5 separate regions of the Homo sapiens genome follow, and all the other regions are linked to region 2. Evidence: promoter capture Hi-C in 16 types of primary human blood cells and fetal thymus (Javierre and others, 2016). All regions are on one chromosome and are shown on one strand. Each heading gives the region's core, a stretch centred on a gene start or on the middle of the fragment in contact. The rest is flanking DNA. Distances are from core to core; before and after follow the strand shown. Region 1 has its middle 13 kb from the start of LINC02589. Region 2 holds the start of SLC25A53 (solute carrier family 25 member 53). Region 3 has its middle 5.6 kb from the start of TCEAL3. Region 4 has its middle 7.5 kb from the start of TCEAL1. Region 5 has its middle 1.8 kb from the start of TCEAL4.

Evidence for each region. The method cuts DNA at HindIII sites, captures the fragments that hold promoters and counts their contacts. A CHiCAGO score of 5 or more calls a contact.
Region 1: a contact is called between a fragment that was not itself captured here and the fragment with the promoter of SLC25A53 in region 2, in 1 of 17 cell types (total B cells). The highest score is 5.4, in total B cells.
Region 3: a contact is called between a fragment that was not itself captured here and the fragment with the promoter of SLC25A53 in region 2, in 1 of 17 cell types (naive B cells). The highest score is 6.4, in naive B cells.
Region 4: a fragment that was not itself captured here is called in contact with the fragment with the promoter of SLC25A53 in region 2 in 2 of 17 cell types (neutrophils and activated CD4 T cells); the score reaches 5.8 in neutrophils.
Region 5: a contact is called between a fragment that was not itself captured here and the fragment with the promoter of SLC25A53 in region 2, in 1 of 17 cell types (monocytes). The highest score is 5.3, in monocytes.

Annotation. Positions count from the first base shown.
Region 1 is chrX:103,566,376-103,569,075 of GRCh38, reverse strand. No RefSeq gene overlaps it. Among named protein-coding and RNA genes, the nearest start is that of LINC02589, 13 kb to the right of the region's middle. The HindIII fragment of the contact is 4,593 bases long and covers 1-2,700 here.
Region 2 is chrX:104,155,657-104,158,356 of GRCh38, reverse strand. SLC25A53 (solute carrier family 25 member 53) reads left to right here and starts at 1,348. Exons shown (of 2, transcript NM_001012755.5): 1 at 1,348-1,479. It also overlaps a transcript of FAM199X not described here. RefSeq lists an enhancer at 1,275-1,574. The HindIII fragment of the contact is 6,927 bases long and covers 1,138-2,700 here.
Region 3 is chrX:103,600,960-103,603,817 of GRCh38, reverse strand. No RefSeq gene overlaps it. Among named protein-coding and RNA genes, the nearest start is that of TCEAL3, 5.6 kb to the left of the region's middle. The HindIII fragment of the contact is 2,991 bases long and covers 21-2,858 here.
Region 4 is chrX:103,635,129-103,637,828 of GRCh38, reverse strand. No RefSeq gene overlaps it. Among named protein-coding and RNA genes, the nearest start is that of TCEAL1, 7.5 kb to the right of the region's middle. The HindIII fragment of the contact is 8,309 bases long and covers 1-2,700 here.
Region 5 is chrX:103,582,383-103,585,082 of GRCh38, reverse strand. It overlaps a transcript of TCEAL4 not described here. Among named protein-coding and RNA genes, the nearest start is that of TCEAL4, 1.8 kb to the left of the region's middle. The HindIII fragment of the contact is 1,593 bases long and covers 481-2,073 here.

The DNA of each region.
Region 1 (2,700 bases), core at 149-2,648, 590 kb after region 2:
AATGCTGTTATTGACCATTGGCATACAATATCTATTCAAGCTCCTGCTTTCAATTCTTTTGGATATGTACTCAAAGTGGAATTGATGGATCATATATTAATTGTATGTTTAATTTTTTGAGGAATTGCCATGCTGTTTTCCACAGTGGCTGTACCATTTTACATTTCCATCAACAATGCACAAGGGTTCCAGTTTCTCTGCATCCTTGCCAATACTTGTTATTTTTTTTTTCTCGTATAATAGCCATCCTAATGAATGTGAAGTGGTATCTCATTGTGTGGTTTGATTTGCATTTCCTTACTAATTAGTGATGTTGAGCATCTTTTCGTGTACTTATTGGCAATCTGTATATCTCCTTTGGAGTAATAGTCATTCAGGTCCTTTGCCGAGTTTTTAATTCGATTATTTTTTTTATTGTTGAGTTGTAGGAGTTATTTATATATTCTAAATATTAGTCCCTTATGAGATATATGATTTGCAAATATTTTCTCCCATTGCATGGATTGCATTTTCACCATGTTGTTAGTGTCCTTTGATGCACATAAGTTTATTTTGATAAATCCAATTTATCTATTTTTTGTTGCCTGTGCTTTTGTTATCCAAGAAATCATTGCCAAAACTAATGTCATGAAGGTTCCCCCCCATGTTTTCTTCTAAGAGTTTGATAGTTTTAGATTTACATTTAGGGCTTTGATCTATTTTGAGTTTATTTTTGTATATGGTGTAAGGGAAGTATCTAAATTCATTCTTTGGCATGTGGATATTCAGTTTTCCTCACATATTCATTAAAGAGACTGTCCTTTCCCTCATGGAATGGTCTTGGCACCCTTGTCAAAAATCAATTATCATATAAGTGAGAGTTTATTTCTAGGCTCTCTATTCTATCTCATTAGTTTATTTGTCTGTCTTTAATGCCAGTACCATACTATTTTGATTACTGTAGATTTTTGGTAAGTTTTAAAATCTGGTAGTGTGAGACCTCCAACTTTGTTCTTCTTTCTCAAGATTGTTTTAGTTATTCAGTATCCCTTGAGATTCCATATGAATTTTAGGATGCATTTTTCTATTCCTGCAAAAAACATCATTGCATCATTGAGATTTTGATAGGGATTGAATCTATAGATCACTTTTGTTAGTACTGACATCTTAACAATATTAAGTCTTTCAATCCATGAACACAGAATGCATTTCCATTTATTTCTGTCTTTTAAATTTTCTTTCATCAACATTTTGTAGTTCTCAGTGCAGATGTCTTTTGCCTCCTTAGTTAAGTTTATTCCTAATTATTATATTCTTTTTGATGCTATTGAAAATGGAATTGTTTTCTTAATTTTCTTTTTGGGTTGTTCACTGTCAATGTATAAAAATGCAACTGATTTTTATGTGTTGGTTTTGTATCCTACAACATTGCGGAATTTATTAGTTCGAACAGTTCTTTTGTGGAATCCTTAAATTTTTCTACAAACTAGGTAATGTCACCTGTGAACAGAAATAATTTTACTTTCTTTATAATTTGAATGCTTCTTTTTCTTCATGTAATTGCTTTGTCTAGAACTTCCAAAATTATTTTGAATGCAGGTGTCTTGTTCCTGATCTTAAAGGAAAGGCTTTCAGGCTTTCACCATTGAATTTGATGTTAGCTGTGGGTTTTTCACATTGGATTTTTAAAAGCCTCTTATTATTTGCTCATCCTGAGGCTATGAAGGAAACTCAAGAAACTTTTCTCACTGGATTTCACCTGCACTATATATAATTTGGGCCAATTCTTTCTTCTTGAGGTTATCAAACTATCTCAGAGGTCCTGGCCTTCGTTTCTCACCTATAAGGCTGGGACCCTGAAAGCCAGGTACTAAGTCAGTTTTCCTCAGTGGGCTTTCTAGTTTAAATTTTAATTCTCTAACTGTAGCTGGTTATACTTGATTAAGTGAGCATCATTCTCAAATATGATATTTCAGACAAGGCCTTATTTGCATAACCAAATTTGCCAATTATTAATATATCCTGGTTAAAAGGAGGACAAGTTCTTATTGAACCTGTATAGATCACTATATTACCATGAAAAGTAGAATACCTAATTTGAATTTGTGAATTCTACAGATGGTGGGGGTATCAGAGAGAAAAAGATAATTTGCAAATATTTTGTTTCAGTTTACAAATGCCAAGTCTACTAAATTGTTATGGGTTAAAGATATGTAAGAAAGACAAGTCTGCATTATATATCCAGAACATAGAACAACATCAGCAATATTTAAAAAAAACTACAATAATCCCTCATCAGATAATTCAGTCATATATGATTAACTCTTGTTCTGATGGATTTGGGGTTAGCAGTCTCATGAATCCATCTGCTTCTCAATTTAAAAAAATTCTGGAAATCCTCAGTCTATTGGTATGGTTTTTAAGTTGCTGAAGCAGTGACTTCAGAAGTTAGCCAGGCGCAGTGGCTCATGCCTGTAATCCCAGCAGTTAGGGAGGCTCAGGTGAGAGGATTGCTTGAGGCCAGGAATTAGAGACCAGCCTGGCCAAAATAGACCTCCATCTCTGCAAAAAACAACCAACCAACCAACCAACAACGACAACAACAACAACAAAAACACCTCAGCCCGGCATTGTGGTGCACACCTGCCATTCCAGCTACTTGTGAGCCTGAGGCAGGAGGATTGCTTGAGCCCAGGAATTAGAGGCTGCAGTGAGCTATGA
Region 2 (2,700 bases), core at 99-2,598:
GGAGGGCAATGAGTGAGCTGGTTATGCCAATTCCTACTATAGTCACCTCCTTGGCTGCCAGCCTTCAAGGGAGAGATCTTTGCCTTAGTGGGTTCTGCCCTTCTGCTTCTGAAGAGAACCTAGTCTTTCTGTATGGGCATTCAGGCAATTCTTGGGGTGGGGAGTTGGGGGAGAGAGAGCACTTGAAAAGAATTTATGGTGGCCTTTTTCTCAGTGATATTTGAGAAATACCAAGACACATCTGAATGTATCTGAGTTTAAGTCTTGGCTCTATTTGTTATTAGCTCTGTGACCGTGGGCAAGTTATTGATTTATATGCAATCTGACTAATCTGAGTTTTCTTAGCTGCTTTAAGCAGACAAAGAGGACAGGAAAGGGTAATACACTTAAGAACCAGCAAAGGGCTATTGTGAGGATGAAGCAATAACAACAAAATGGGTTTAAAGCACTTATCATAGTGCGTGGTCCATAGAACTGCAAACGTTGGATTTTGCTTATTTTAGGACAGTACAAAGAGACTCTTTAATATACTCTTCTGACTCCAGCCAGAGTGGTAGTAATTTCCATATCAGCAGTCCCTAGAATCAGGTATTACAGCCTCAGCCTGGAGAGAACAGGGCAATCCCCTCTATCCCAGGTGAAATGATTATTATCATTTATTATTTATTAGCCAGAGGTCTTAGGTGAGATCAAATTCAATCATTATAATTTATATTTCAATATACTGCTTAACTTCATGATAGGCAATGTTCTAGGTGCTCCTCACATGTGAAATTTTAATATTTTTACTGCAACTCTGGAGGTAAGTACTATTATTATACCAATTCTACAGATGAAAAAGCCAAGGAATAGCATGCTTGAATCACTTGCCCAAGATGCCATGTTTAGATAGTGGTACAGTGGGGATTCGAACGCGGGAGCTCAGGTTTCAAAGTCTGTGCTCTTTACATATGCAGCTAAAGAGTCAGACAAGAACCAAAAGGAGATGGAGAATAGAGGGTAGAAAGGGCACAGGTTCAAGGTGAAAGGTCAGAAACTGCAAATTCGGAGTTTGGGTTGGTCTAGCAGCTTAAAGGCGTCATCATGAACTGTTCACCTAAGTAAGTTAAGCTCCTGTTTGAGAATGACTGATAAGCTTGCAAGCCAACTTACAAACAAACTGGGGAAATGTTCCAATAGATGACTAAGTCTTTTAGGTCTTTTTACCTGTGTTTTTCGGTCTCTATACCAGATTAGTCGCCTGGCTCTCCCAAACAGACCGGCCAACTGACGTAGTCGCGAAACGGTTAATGTCGAGGCGGGGGCGGGGGAGGCGGAAATAAAGAGAGCGGAAGCAAAGAGGATTGTGGGAGCTCCGTTGTGCGTCGCTTAAGTGAGGGCGGCGGATGGGCGAAGGTCCGGTGACTGCGACTGTCGCTGCTTTCTGAGGCCACAGGAAAGGGGCCGTCGGTCGCCGCCATGACAGCGAGCGAGGCGGAGGTTTGTAGCACTTCTTATGGGCTGAGGGCGTAGACACATCCTGCTTCCAGCCTAGCAGGCAAACGGGAACGGAAGTGATAGGGGATCAGAAGTTGCGAGGGGATGAGGAGTAGGGGAAACTGACAAGCGGACGGACCCGGCGGCGAGAATTGATGGCGTAGCTGTAGGATTAAGGGGCGTGTCAACTGTGTTGTGTGTGTTGACACTGAGATGTGTGAATCCCCTCATTATTTTTAGCTGGGGACAGGCGGGGTCTATGGGGGAGGGGGCGGACGGATGAATGGAGGATAAAATCAGGGCGAAAACGTGTTGTCTGCTGGGCACCAGTACATCTGAGTCACATCTCAGCAGGATGATTTTATTGGAAAGATCTAGGTCCCTGGTTTCAGATTCTGCTATTGATGCGTTGATTGATTTCCCTTACCAAAATACCAAGTACCTGCTCTGTGCTGGGTACTGCACTAGAGGCTCCGGATGAGGAAAGGAATTAGGCTTTTTCCTCGACATTTACAGCCTGCCGGTTGCTATCTGCATTTGGAGACAGGCTATTACAATACAAGGAGACAGAGATAGATCCTGTGTTATGAAAATCTATTGGGTGCCACCGAACTCATCTGGGAGTTGAGATCTGGGACGGCTCTTTGATGCGGTGATTTAACATATATTTTGAAGACAAAATAAGCAGGGCAAAAACGAAGTGCAATTTTCCTCCAAGCACCTTCCCTCCCTGTTGAGGTGAACTGGAGAACTGAGTAGCATTTAAGGCCCAAAATTAGTGTATTTCTTTTTTTTTTTCTTTCTTTCTTTCTTTTTTTTTTTTTTGATAAGGAGTCTCTCTACTTCTGTCGCCCAGGCTGGAATGCAGTGGCGTGATCTCCGCTCACTGCAACCTCCGTCTGCCGGGTTCAAGTGATTCTCCTGCCTCAGCCTCCCGGGTTGCTGGGATTAGAGGCACCCACCACCACTCCCGGCTAATTTTTATATTTTTATATTTTTAGTAGAGACGGGGTTTTACCATGTTGGCCAGGTTGGCCTCGAACTCCTGACCTCAAGTGATCCGCCTGCCTCGGCCTCCCAAAGTGCTGGTATTACAGGCATGAGCCACCGCGCCCGGTCCCCACAACTAGTTTATTTCTGGTAAGAGCATTTGCCCATCACAATGGGACTTCCAGGCGCCTCTGGAAGAATCAGTCTTACGTGAGTGCAAAGCCTGCAAGCTCT
Region 3 (2,858 bases), core at 267-2,766, 550 kb after region 2:
GGAAATAGACAGAGAAAGCTTCAAGGAGGAAAAGGACCTTGACTTGGGCCTCAGATGATAGGCGGGACCTACAAGGAGGTAGGGAGGGAAAACTCAGCTGTTTGACTATAGTTCCTGGTCTTACATTAATTATACTGGCCTATCTTTATTAAATGGTCAGGTTGCCCCAACTTGAAATCAAGGTCTCATCTGATTTGTCCCTCTCCCACAGACAAAGCTCTCCTTCCTGCTTCGCTGTATCTCCTGAATCTGTCACTACCTTAGAGCTTCACCATTTCTCATTTGAACTCTTAGAATAATCTCTTCTCTAGTTTTCCTGCTTCCAGCCCTGCCCCTTCCTTAAGATAAATCTTGTACATTACCATCAAATTAAACTTTACTCTTCCCTGCTTTTAACTGCCATTCTCCTGCTTGAAGGCGCTGACGGTAAACCTACCACCCACAGAGTAAATTCTGCACTCTTCATCCTGACATTCAGCATCCATCAGAATTGAGCCCCAGGACACACATTCTCAACCTAGTCATGCACTTCTCTGCCCTCACTCAATGTGCCCCAAGTATGCCTTATTCTTCCCTCTCATTGTCCTTATGTGTCATTTACTTCCTGCCAACTGCCTTCTTATTCCCCCTAGAGGTCCTAGTCCTGCCCATTCTTAGAGGCCAACCCTCATCACTCAGCCTCTGAAGCCACCCTAGCTGGAAGTGATCTTTCCTTCCCCTGTTGCACAGGGTCTCTACCTTTCATGTTGCCCTTAACAAAGGTTTTTGTACCATATATCCTTGTACCTTTCCACGTTTGTGTGTGTGTGTGTGTGTGTGTGTGCACGTGTGCACTGGGAGAAATAGTGGTAGCTCATCAGGGAGGTGGTCAGATGTGGGACATCAGATATGATCTTGTCTTCTATGGTCCCTATGCTGATACATGGTGATTTGCTCAGAAAATCTCAGTCTCCGAAGAAGCTGTTTTCCAATTGGCTCATAGCTGAACCTGCTTTCTGTGTTCACAAAGGTTGGAGTAGAGGTTTAACTCCTCTTCTGTTTAATGGGCTTTTGATATAAAAAGAAATTAATCACATTCTGAAAGAAGAGCCATCCCTGAACTCTCAAGTCTAGATCCCTTATCTGTTCTTTTAGCACCTTTATTTCCCCATTGTTAACACTCATTAGGTTTTGTAATTGGCTCTTTCCATTTCTGTATCCCCCTATAAGCCCCCTAAAGATGGAGACTGTGCCATATTCATCTTTGCATCCTCTTGCATGATTATTCAAATATCCCATTGATGAAAACAGGTATATATATGTGTGTGTGTGTGTGTGTGTGTGTGTGTGTGTGTGTGTGTGTGTGTATATGTATATATGTGTGTGTGTGTGTGTATCTGCTTCTGGTAATGGCGGACTAGATGATTTAGAGCAACCCACCCATTGAAAAGAACTACAAAACGTCAGATCTCTAAAAGGCTACAAAATTAATACAATTGTGAGGAATTGCTAGGTTATACTACAAGAGAACAGAAGCATCCAGAGAGGTAAGCCTAGGACTTAAAACTATATTTTTATTGAAGGTATCTGTGGTTGAGTAATAAGCCTGTGCTAAACTGCGTGGAACTTATGGCACATTCAAGGCACTATAGTAACAGAAGTCAGAGCCCAAGGCCCATCAAAAGGGGTGGAGTGTTTCCTGACAAACCATCACCCATAGTATGCTGGGAACCGCAAATGTTTATACCTTCAGGGTAATTGTAATCAAAAAATATACTAGCCCTTACAAAGTCTTGTAGCTTGGCTTTGCATCATCTGGGTGGACTAGTGAACTGTAAGTTCTGAACAAATATTATGGTGGTAACAAACAGGAAGCATTTTTTTTTTTTTTTTTTTTTTTTTTTTTTTTTAGACAGAGTCTCACTCTGTTGCCCAGGCTGGAGTGCAATGGCGCAATCTCAGCTCACTGCAACTTCCATCTCCCAGGTTCAAGCAATTCTTATGCTTCAGCCTCCTGAGTAGCTGGGATTACAGGCATGCACCACCACGCCTGGCTAATATTTTTGTATTTTTAGTAGAGACAGGGTTTCGCCATGTTGTTCAGGCTGGTCTCAAACTCCTGACCTTGTGATCCACCCACCTTGGCCTCCCAAAGTGCTGGGATTACAGGCGTGAGCCACCGCACCTGGCCAGGAGGCACTCTTATGGGCCTGACCAATGCAAATAAAATCTTCTCTAGAGTAAGATTTTTATCATCTTAGGCCTTAGATTATTACAACAATTGCTGAAATACAATATCCACACACAAAGATAACCAGGTGCACGAAAAAAATACGTTATGAGTAACAAATAGAAACAACAGGCAACACAAATAGATCAATATGATTTGAATTATTTGATTTATCAGGTACAGATTATTAAACCACAATACTTACTGTATTCAGATAAAACCTCATCTTGAAGATTTCAATATAAATAAATAAGAAATAAATAAATAAAATTCATATTTAAAATCTTCCAAAATGTTTCCGACCAGGAAAATTTTAGGCCCAGATAACTTCACTAGTGAAGAAAATAATATCCATCCAACACAGTCTTCCAGATAATTAAAAAAGAGAGAATACTCTGCAAGTCATTTTAAGATTTGGTATAACCTTAATATCAAAACCCGACAAGGTCATTATGGGAAAAGAAAAATATAGGTCAATGTAACTCATTGACATAACTGAAAAAAAATTTAAAGAAGAAAGAACCTGACCATATATGAGAATAATAATATACTACATACAAGTTAAGGTATTCCAGAAATGAAAGATTGGTATAATATTTGAAAATCAATTAATGTAATTTACCACATTAAGAGAATAAAGTCTAACAAT
Region 4 (2,700 bases), core at 3-2,502, 520 kb after region 2:
CAGCATCAGCAAAGGCATGCAGGCTTAGCCTCAAAGGCTTGACTAGACCAGACCAGTCAAAGTCTCACAAGAATTCAGATGACAAATGTCCATTAGAGAAGCCAGTTTGGCAGTGCCCCTAAATGCACCTCATGACCCAACAATTCCACTTCTAGTCACCAATCCTAAGAAATACACAGATATACAAGGAGGCATGAACAAGAAAGGCCATTTCAGCGTGTTTATAACAGTAAAGCACTGGAAACCTAAATCTCTATAATTAGGGAATACATTGCAGTATGTTCAGAGTCTGCAATAGGTGCAGCAGCTACATATGAACTAGATCTATAGGTAATAATATGGATAGATTTCCAGGACATACTATTGAATGAAAAAAAGAACATTTTGCTGAATGAAACATAGGATAGGATGCCATTTACGTAATGTCATTTAGAGCCTATGACTATATATGTATTTATATTTATGTATGTGTAAGTATATTATATATGTATACATGGCATCTATTAATATGTTTTTATTATAACATATAGTATATAAGTATATATGTACATATATACATATATACACATATATGTGTGTATATATACATATATACATATATATACACATATATATGTGTGTATATATATGTATGTATATAGTTTCTTATGTGAGTTACTGCTCCATGTACTTTGCCCATTTTCTATTGGGTGAGCAGAGTTTTTTACTTTTAAAAGATATTATGTCTAAATCTATAATATATGTTTAAATATTTCATTACAGTTTCTCATGTGCCATTTAATATTCTTTGAGATACATTTTTTACTTTAAATATTTTGAAAGATAATTCTTTATTAATTTTTCTGATTGCAGAAGCATGCTTGTAGCATAAAAATTCAAACCCTATAACAGTGGGGCATGAGAATAGCAGAGTGTTCACAAATTTTCTGACATCTAAAAGATGAATGCCACTAGATTTGGCAATGAGAGAGAAAGTGTGAAATTTTAGGAGCAAGCAAAGCATAATGGTTAAAAGGTCAGACTTAAGAGTCAGACAAATTTGAGTTCAAATAAAGTTCCTCCATTGACTGGCTGTGTGACCCTGTGTAAGCCACCTAAACTTTTCGGGGCTTCAGTTTTCTCATCTATAATAAGCAATACCTTCCTAAAAGTGTTAAAAGGATTAAAGGAAACTCCAAGTATGAAGTATCTGTCCCAAAGCAGGTGCTTGACCATTTTAAATTTCTTTCCTCAACTCCAAACAAAGCCAGTGATCTTTCCCTTGCCTTATGCTTTTTGGGGAGCCCATCCATACATGTGGCCCTCAGACATAGGTCCCTGAGACCAAAGAGCACAATTTTATTTTCATCATTGACATCACCATCAAGAAGTGTGGTTGATGGAATACTCATACAGATGAATGTCATGGCACATATGTAAATAAAAGTAAGAGAATAAAGAAAATAGGCTGGGCGCAGTGGCTCACGCCTGTAATCCCAACACTTTGGGAGGCCAAGGTGGGTGGAAAACGAGGTCAGGAGATCAAGACCATCCTGGCTAACACAGTGAAACCCCATCTCTACTAAAAATACAAAAGAAAAAGAAAATTAGCCAGGCATGGTGGCATGCCTCTGTAGTCCCAGCTACTTGGGAGGCTGAGGCAGGAGAATCGCTTGCACCCAGGAGGTGGAGGTCGCAGTGAGCCGAGATCGTGCCACTGTACTCCAGCCTGGGTGACAGAGCAAAAAAAAAAAAAAAAAAAAAAAAAAGAAAAGAAAACATATGCTCTGTAAGATATAATTACATATATAAAAATGAATACATAAAGGCATTTAAATGTATTATATATGTAATATAATATATATGTTTACTTTATAACAAAGTAAATGGATAGAATACATAAAAGGAGATATACACACACAATGTAAGTACATGCTCCTCAATATTGGGAACTGTAGGCATCTTCTTCTTACACTTTTCTGCATTTCCATATATTTTCTAGTAGAAATATATAACTTCTACAATCAGAGAAAAAGTGAAAATAGTATAAGACAATTCAGCTTAAACACACATACATATGCACACATAGATGCACACGCTTATCTTGACTTGAGACAAGGAAAAACCACCTAACTATATGTTGCTTCTTGGGCCACCTCAATCCCCAAGAAGAGCCTGATACTTGTGTGGTTCCAGTGTGAGTCAGGGTTGAGACATTCCCTTCCCAAATATCAAGCCTCTCCACCAGCTCTCCTCTCATAGTTTCTCTCCTCCCTGCTCTCCTTTGTTAGCCATGTTTGACCCACAATCCTGACTCTGATCACCGGGTGGCACTTACCTCAATATGTAAACATTCTCCTGAAACAGGTATTATCTTGGTAAAAAGAAAGTTTAAAGAAAAAGTTTATTTTTTTTACACACAGGATATGAACCAGTGTGTTCAGTAGAATCCCACTTCTGTTTGAAAAATACATATTCATAGAAAAGGATAGAAGAGTATACAATTGCATTCTTCATTCATTCATTTAATTCAACAAATACTCCTGGGCCACTTGCTATGTTCCTGGTATCATAAGCCAAAATTGATATTTCCATTCTAATCTCTTTTCCAAACTTCAAACACATATCTAACTGCCTACTAGACATTTCTACCTGGATTGAGATAAAAATGAGAAAACTCACTCAAATCCACAAACCAACAAGAATACCATACTCAGCAAG
Region 5 (2,700 bases), core at 28-2,527, 570 kb after region 2:
ATAAAACAACGATTAATTTATCTTAAGTGAGAAACTGAATATACAATGACCAGACCACATACGAAAATAGAACTGTGACCCACAACCTTTGCTGCAAGCAGCTCAAAAAGCCAAAGTATAGCATCTGCAGAAATGTTCAGGACTTTAATCAATTTGCTAGCCTTTCTGGCCTTTTTAATTTTTTTGACCTGATGACAAACAAGAAAAACCCAAATATGAACCCATATTCAATCACATAGGATGCTTGCCTCTAGTTGGCCTGCCTCTAGCTTCCTCACGTCAACAACATCCAATCAGAGCGTAGCTGAAGTCTTTGTGTTTTTGTTTTCCACTATAAAGCTTTCCCACTCCCCTGCCTGTCTTTGAATCTCTGCCAGACTCAAATGATGGTGGCTTGACTTCCTTGCTATAAAAAAGCTGTGAATAAGTAGCACTTGTTTGTTCTCTTATGGGTAGACTCCGTTTATCTCCACATAAGCTTTTGGTGTGGAAGGCCTTTATAGTCACGTGCCACTTAATAACGGGGATATGTTCTGAGAAATGCATCAGGCAATTTCGTGGTGGTGCGAACATCGTAGAGTGTAGTTATACAAATCTATATGGTATAGCCTACTACACTCCTAGGCTACATACTATAGCCTATCGTATTCTATGCTGTCCGTTGTCGTTGACCAATCGATACGCAGTGTGACTGTACAACAAAGAGACAAATGCTGATAGATTAGATTACATGAAAATTTTTAACAGATTTGTTGAAGGACTGGGGACACATGCACTCTCCCCTGCTCTTATTGAATATGTTGGTGAAATTTTTCTGAAGATCAACTTTGTAAATTATTTAAAAATAAAAATATCGGCCAGGCACGGTGGCTCACACCTGTAATCCCAGCGCTTTGGGAAGCTGAGGCGGGTGGATCACCTGAGGTCAGGAGTTCAAGACCAGCCTGACCAGGATGGTGAAACCCCATCTCTACTAAAAATACCAAAACTAGCTGGGCGTGGTGGTGGGCGCCTGTAATCCCAGCTACTCGGTAGGCTGAGGCAGGAGAATTGCTTGAACCCGAGAGGCAGAGGTTGCAGTGAGCCGAGATCACGCCATTGCACTCCAGTCTGGGCGACAGAGTGAGACTTCGTCTCAAAAAAAAAAATTAATATTTGATCTTTTGTGCCAGTAATTTCACTTCTAATAGTTACCCACAATGATAATTTTCTTTCTTCAACTTTTATTTTAAGCTCAGGGGCACATGTGCAGGATGTGAAGGTTTGTTATGTAGATAAACATGTGCCATGGTGGTTTGCTGTATAGATCATCTCATCACCCAGGTATTAAGCCTGGCAGCCACCAGCTATTCTTCCTTATGCTCTCCCTCCCTGCCCCCAGCAGGCCCCTGTGTGTGTTGTTCCCTGACATGTGTCCATGTGTTCTCATCATTCAGCTCCCAGTGAGAACACATGGTGTTTGGTTTTCTGTTCCTGCATTAGTTTGCTGAGAATAATGGCTTCTAGCTCCATCCATGTGCCTGCAAAAGACATGATCTCATTCCTTTTTATGGCTGCATAGTATTCCATGGTGTATATGTACCACATTTTCTTTATCTAGTCTATCATTGATGGGCATTTCAGTTGATTCCATATCTTTGCTATTGTGATTAGTGCTGCAATGAACATACGGGTGCATGTATCCTTATAACAGAATGATTTATATTCCTTTGGGTATATACCCAGTAATGAGATTGCTCAGTCAAATGATATTTCTGGTTCCAGGTCTTTGAGGAATCGCCACAGTCTTCCACAATGGTTGCTGATTTATACTCCCACCAACAGTGTAAAAGTGTTTCTTTTTCTCTGCAGCCTCACCAGCATCTGTTGTTTTTTGACTTTTTAATAATAGCCATTCTGACTAGCTTAAGATGGTATATCATTGTGGTTATGATTTGCATTTCTCTATCAGTGATGTTGAGGTTTTTTTCACATGTTTTTTGGCCTCATGTATGTCTTCTTTTGAGAAGTGTGTGTTCATGTCTTTGCCTACTTTTTAATGGGCTGTTTTTTTCTTGTAAATTTGTTTAAGCTTCTTGGAGACTGGATATTAGACCTTTGTCAGATGGATAAATTGCAAAAATTTTATCCCGTTCTGTAGGTTGTCTGTTCACTCTGATGAGTTTTGTTTGCTGTGTAGAAGCTCGTTAGTTTAATTAGATCTCATTTGTCAATTGTTGCTTTTGTTGCAATTGCCTGTGCCTATGTCCTGAATGGTATTGCCTAGGATTTTCTAATAGGGTTTTTGTAGTTTTGGGTTTTACATTTAAGTCTTTAATCCATCTTGAGTTAATATTTATATATGGTATAAGGAAGGGGTCCAGTTTCAATTCTCTGCATATTGCTAGCCATTTCTCCCAGCACTATTTATTAAATAGGGAATCCTTTCCCCATTGCTAGTTTTTGTCAGATTTATTGAAGATCAGATAGTTCTAGGTGTGTGGTCTTATTTATGAGTTCTCTATTATGTTCTGTTAGTCTATATGTCTGTTGTTGTACCAGTACCATGCTGTTTTGTTTACTGTAGCCTTGTAGTATAGTTAGAAGTCAGGTAGTGTGATGCCTCCAACTTTGTTCTATTTGCTTAGGATTGTCTTGGCTATTTGGGCTCTTTTTTGGTTCCATATGAGTTTTAAAATAGTTTTTTTCAATTCTGTGAAG